Regions from separate parts of the Homo sapiens genome. Here region 2 is linked to region 1. The links are contacts of gene promoters, found by promoter capture Hi-C in human tissues and cell types (Jung and others, 2019). All regions are on one chromosome and are shown on one strand. Each heading gives the region's core, a stretch centred on a gene start or on the middle of the fragment in contact. The rest is flanking DNA. Distances are from core to core; before and after follow the strand shown.

The links. The method cuts DNA at HindIII sites, captures the fragments that hold promoters and counts their contacts. A contact is called where the count stands out against the background at its distance.
Region 2: a contact is called between a fragment that was not itself captured here and the fragment with the promoter of OR51D1 in region 1, in 5 of the 25 tissues and cell types used here (H1 embryonic stem cells, aorta, mesenchymal stem cells and 2 more).

Annotation. Positions count from the first base shown.
Region 1 is chr11:4,635,980-4,639,173 of GRCh38, forward strand. It overlaps OR51D1 (olfactory receptor family 51 subfamily D member 1), which reads left to right and starts at 1,498. Exons shown (of 2, transcript NM_001004751.3): 1 at 1,498-1,774. The HindIII fragment of the contact is 12,772 bases long and covers 1-3,194 here.
Region 2 is chr11:4,899,895-4,902,955 of GRCh38, forward strand. The region is part of intron 2 of MMP26 (matrix metallopeptidase 26); the gene reads left to right. Among named protein-coding and RNA genes, the nearest start is that of OR51A7, 2.4 kb to the right of the region's middle. The HindIII fragment of the contact is 6,232 bases long and covers 1-3,061 here.

The sequences.
Region 1 (3,194 bases), core at 248-2,747:
ACATGGCCAACAGAGTGATTTATATGACAGGGAACATAAAACAGACAGGGAGCGGGGTCCGGATTGAAGAGCAGAGATGATGAGCTTAGTTGATAATGAAATCAATGAGCTTAGAAATGATGAGTTAGGTGTTGAGTTTGAGGTGCCTGAAGGACACCTATGTCCAATAGACTTTACCATATTTGGAGTTTAGGAGATTGGTCTGGCCTGCTTGGGTGATGAAAGCTACTGGACAAAGTAAGATTACTCATAGTTACTATATAGAGGGGGAAGACAGATTATCTTCCTGGGCCATAGCTACCAGTAATGTGAGGAGTAAAGGACAAGGAGTCTCTCTGCCAACTCCATCCTGTTGACATTTAGTCTCTTCTAGTTCCAAAATACACATTTTAAAATCTCTGTGGAGCTATAAATCCTCCCAATATTGTCCATTTCACTCCTCTGTTCACGTACAAATATCTTAAAAGGGTTGTCTACATCGACTCTCTTCATCTCTTCCTAACACACTCCTCACACTGCTTCACTCAAGATTCCATCCCCCACCCTGTTATCCAGGTAGCCAGTGACCTTTGATTTCAGTCTTTTCACTGCTTGATCTCTCGGCAGCTTTCTGAACTGCTGACCAATCTTCCTTGTCAATATATTTTTTCCTGTCTCTTTTGTGGCACTGTCTACTGGATTTCCTACGTCCTTGGCTCTTCCATTTGTTTTGACTAGTAATAATGAACACAAACATTCACTGGAGACTTGCTAGTATCTCATTTCGTTTTTCACATTAAATGCTTTCACACTAAATGCTTATAGTAGTCATACTATTAATAAATGGGCGGACCCAAGTCTGTTTCCTTCTAGAGCCCCATGTTCAAACAAACATGCCACACGGTCTCATTTCTGGAGGGACAGGACATCTATGATTAGCGACCCAAGGAAGAAAGGGTGGGCTTGAGAGGGTGAGAGGGAGAGCTAAGGGGCAGCGCAGAGTAGTGGAAAGAGCTCAGATGCTAGAGTCAGTTGGGTCCTTGGTTCTTAAAGGCATCATCCTCAGAGCCATTGCTCAGGGACGGCCACGAGGCTGAAGATCCCCTGTGCGACCACAAGGTGGCAGCATGAAGAAGCGAGAGTCCCTGACACAGCTTCGATCCCCTTGGGTAGTTAGTGTGTTCGGAGCGCTGGTATCCCTGCGTGCTTTCTGCTGAGTGCCCACCCCTCCATTCCAGCAGGTCCTCTCTTCCAGCCCCGTTATTCCTCTTCTCCTTTCCACCCCGCGACACAGCCTCCCTCTAGTCTCTTGAGCTGGGCTCAGAGGGATAGTGATAGAGCTCAGTCCCTTTGGGTAGGAGTCAGGGCTCAGCTTTCCTTGGGCGTCTGAGCAGAGCGTCAGTGCCAGGGAGACCCGACTCGTTCACTCTCCATCACTCTACACACTCCTGAGGGGCCCCAGAGAAGCTATAATTGGGCGGCCTCCATGCGCTGGGGAAGCACTGGTGGTGAGTGTAGCAGGCTCAGCCCAGGGAGGTTAGGCAACGGGAGGGTCCGCAGAGACAGGCACAGAAGGCTCATTGCATAAGGAAGCCGGGACTTGATCAGTCAGCTTGGCTGCTTGGAGAGGTCTTCTAGTGTACACCTTTTCCAGATCACAGTAGCCCGGTTCCTGGACCTTGTTCCTACACAGAGGAATTTCTTCAAGCCTGTGAGACCCGTTCCAAGCTTTGCCTATCCTTTGTCCCAGGACAGGACTCCTCAGTTCCTGCCTCCTACTCTTCACTTAAGCAAGGCAAGGGGAATTACTTTACCAGGAAAAAAATGTGTGTGAGTGTGTACGTGTGTGTGTATGTGCACGTGTGTGTTGTGGTGGTGCTGGTGGTGATTGGTGATGAAGAAGGAAACTGAAGCTGGGCTGGAAAGTTGAGTTAGAGGAACACTGTGAAGGGCCTTGTCTGCATACTGTGGAGTTACTAGTTCTCACTTTATCTGGAAAGCTATGGGAATCACTCCTAACTTGCTCAGCAGGAGCCCCAGGTGTCCAGTTTTGCTGTTTAGATGGCAGTGGTGTGGAAGGTGGTTTGGAATAGACTAGGTTTGGAGGCAGGGAGGTAAGTTGGAAGGCTCTTTTTATAATCAGGGCAGAGTGGATAATATAATTAAGTTGGGAGGAGGTGTATTAAGAGGAACGGCCCCAATAATTAATTGGAAAAGTTGAATTGCATGTGGGGGTGAAAGAGGAGACGGGTCAAGATGAGACCAGCTGCCCTGACTTGGGTGATGTGGGTTCTGAGCAGTGGCATTCTCTGAGATCAGGAACAGGTTTGGAAGGGGTCCCTGTTAGAGGCAAGATGAGTGGGAGGCCCATAGGCTATCCAGGTAGAACTATCAAGGAGGCGGTAGGTTATATGGCTGAATCTCAGGACACAGGCTTAGAACAGTGTGGTCTGTAGAGAGAAAGAAGTTGAGCCTGGGACGTTGTGTGATCACCAGGGAGAGTAGGTGGAGGGAGAGGTGTGTGTGCCTGTGAACACTGTGGAGTAACAGCAGCAGCACTGGCTGATTTTCTGTTCATGTCTCAGCTGCATCTGATTTCCATGACATGCTCCTCTTGCTGAGCGCAACCTGGGACTGACTCTCACCTGGGGCTTGAGAGATCTTGATGGCAGATGCTGCTTATTGTTCGTTTGGGAGCTGGAAATGGAAATGATAGTCCCTCTTCATTCACCTCCCTGCCCCCAAGAACACCAGAACAACTTTCCCCAAAGTTCTCTGATTTAAAGCACAAATTTCCTAGGGGAAAGGGGCTTATCGTTTTTTGTTTGTTTATTTGTTTTGTTTTGTTTTTGAGTTGGTGTCTCGCTGTGTCACCCAGGCTGGAATGCAGTGGGGGTGATCTCGTCTCACTGCAGCCTCTGCCGCCCAGGTTCAAATGATTCTCCTGCCTCAGCCTCCTGAGTAGCTGGGATTACAGGTGCGCTCCACCAAGCCTGGCTAACTTTTGCATTTTTAATAGAGGCAGGGTTTCACCATGTTGGCCTGGCTGGTCTCGAACCCCTGACCTTGCGATCTGCCCACCTCGGCCTCCCAAAGTGCTGGGATTACAGGCGTGAGCCACTGTACCTGGCGGGGCTTATTGTTTTTTAAAAAGATTTCCAAAACCTTGCCCTGGCAATTCTGATTTTCTGGGCCTGGAGCAGGACCTGGAGGGA
Region 2 (3,061 bases), core at 314-2,813, 260 kb after region 1:
AACACAAATTTTCCAAGTAGGTCACCAAAAATGATGGTAAGTGGGACTACTCTTAATTTCAGCTCTTTTGTTCCCAAATATATTTATTCTAATCATTGCAGTCAAAGCTATGTATAATGATTGTTGGTGTGTTGTACATGACGCATCTGGGGTATGTTGTCTCATCCTCACTAATGTCGTCTCTAAGGTGGAGACTCAACTCTACCTGTTCTATTTCTGTACCAGATTGGAAGCTTTTGAGTGGTGTAGCCCATGATACAAGCATGGTTGTGTGTCTACTGTTGCAAGTATTCTAAAATGTGTCCCTTTTCATGAAGTGATATAACATAATGTCCTATGCTGGTGGATCAAACCCTTTGTAAGCCCTGAGATACTAGGTTTGGCTATGACTCTTCAAGAAAATAAAACAAACCTACACCCATCATATGTGTCAATTTCTATCAAGTTCATTTGCTGCCTTTTGTGGGGTAGAATAATCTTCCATTAAGTGGCCATTTTCTACTCAAGAAGTGATGCTACATTGGGCAGTTAACATTGTTTTCTATCATTGCCAGGTTAATATTTAGTAGAAAGAGAAGTTTTATCAGCCTTGTTGAGTGGGAAACTATGCTTTGTGTTTATGCAGTTTTCATCCTGCCACTATAGCTACTTCAATTAGGAGCCAATTATGCCACCACTGAGGTTGCTTATATCAGAATCTAGCTGATATAAATTGTCAGGTCCACTCAGTGTTCTTTATAGCTTAGGTTCTTTTCCATTATGTATAGACTATGATGAACATTGATCTTTTATATAAAGATCTTCAAACTTTGTTCTAACTTCTAGAACCATCCACATGCCACTTCATCCCTCTGCCTCTTTGTCACTAGTATTCCAGTCTTTCTCCTTCCAACAGCCTGGTCAATTAGCCAAGTTACCCACCATTAACAATAAGTTGAATTTTTGTGTATTCTTACATAGAACCACCTCTTTTTTATACAAAGAGGATGAGTGAGTCCATCAGCTGATTTGTCCGTGGGATGTATTTCTCCTAAGTACTATCTTTCAAAGTCACTCCTTAATGGATCAGTAACACATCTACAGTTCATTTTTGGCATACCAACTTTACTCATTTATGAACTAACTTGGCTTTCATCCCCCACCAGCTGGTCATAAGGGATCATCCACGTAGCTACAAGTGTAAGCTTAGGGAAAGTGCACCACATTGCAATAGTAGTGCACTAACATCAGTGGACTTCGCATCACCTCTTTGTGCTTTTTTTTTTTTTTTTTTTTTTTTTTTGAGACGGAGTCTCACTCTGTCGCCCAGTCTGGAGTGCAGTGGCGTGATCTCCGCTCACTGCAAGCTCTGCCCCCCGGGGTTCATGCCATTCTCCTGCCTCAGCCTCCTGAGTAGCTGAGACTACAGGTGCCTGCCACCACACCTGGCTAATTTTTTTGTATTTTTAGTAGAGACGGGGTTTCACAGTGTTTGCCGGGATGGTCTCAATCTCCTGACCTTGTGATCCGCCTGCCTCGGCCTCCCAAAGTGCTGGGATTACAGGTGTGAGCCACCATGCCCGGCCCCCTCTTTGTGCTCTTTCAGTTGTGCTTGATGGTCTTACTTGTGTCTTAGCATGGGCATACGTCTTTCTGTTATGTGAGTAGAATTAGCACTCAAAGTGTGGCATATGCTGCCTCCGGGGTTTCAGGAGGTCACTACATGTGGTACTTTCTTCTTGGTGGTAAAAGATAAAAAATGCTTTAGTTTGTCTATTAACTGAGAGAGGCTGTCGCAATTTTTCCTATACCGCAGGATCCCTAAAAACTTCTCTAATGTTTAAGATTCCTACTTTTTTGTATGGGTGTTTATCTCTATCCTTTCCCACCTAAAGAGCACTGTGTTTTGACAAGAATGCCAATATACTTGCATTTCATGCTCGTCTACCTGATTAATATATTGTCATTGATATAGTGGGTCAATAAAATATTATGCAAAATATCCAAAGAAAATAAGTATTTTCAAATTATAGATTTATTATAGAAGATGGAAGAGAATATATTTGCCACATAAATACTACATACTTGATAATCGAATCCAGGTTAATCTTAATCTTCCCTGGTAAAAACACTGCACCTGACATAAAACTTTAAACTGATGTTTCTACTTGGTTGAGATTGGAGTCCACAGTAGTCCTCCATGACCCTTTTCGTTACACACACAAAAGTAGCCAGTAAGAGAATCCAGTTTACAGAGAATGCTCTATTTATAAATAAATCTTGTGAGTTACCTTTCCTCTGGGTACTATTACAGTTCACTTCAGATGAAAATTTTAACAATAACTTGCTACAGCATGTCAGGGACCATCAACATTTCATCTGCAACCAGTGATGTGGTTCCTATTGTGATGCAGACAGTGATGAATCCAACTCTAGAATTTCTTATTGGCAATCTGTTTTCTAGAATCTTTTCTCACTTACAAGTAAGAACACAGTATCTGGTTTTCTGTTGCTGTGTTAATTTGCTCAGGATAATGGCTTCCAGATGCATCCATGTTGCTCCAGAGGACACGATTTTGTTCTTTTTTTGTGGCTGTGTAGTATTCCCTGGTGTACATGTATCACATTTTCTTTATCCAACCTTCTGTTGGCACCTGGGTTGGTTTCATGTCTTTGCTATTGTTTGACACACTTTTTAGTTGTGTTGTTTGTTTTCTTATTGAGTTTCAAGAATTCTTGTGTCTTTTGCAAATATTTTCTTCCAATTAGCAACTTATAATAAAATGTTAAGTCCCAAGATAATAAGGTGGGTATCAAATGCATCTGCTAGAATAGCCCAATGACATTTAATAAGTCTATTTGCTTCAGATAACTTAACATGGAGAATATGTAATCTCATTTATCTTATGGGAGTTGATCGTCTTCTCCAGACATGGGAACTAGCAATGAGTGGGCTTATCCCTGCTCATTGTTTTAAATTTCTATTCATTTCTTATTCACAGATATATGTATTTTGTATTTGAGCCATGTTGTGTCTTTTATATTATTATTCCATTAAATTGTATTAATTAAAATTATTTTA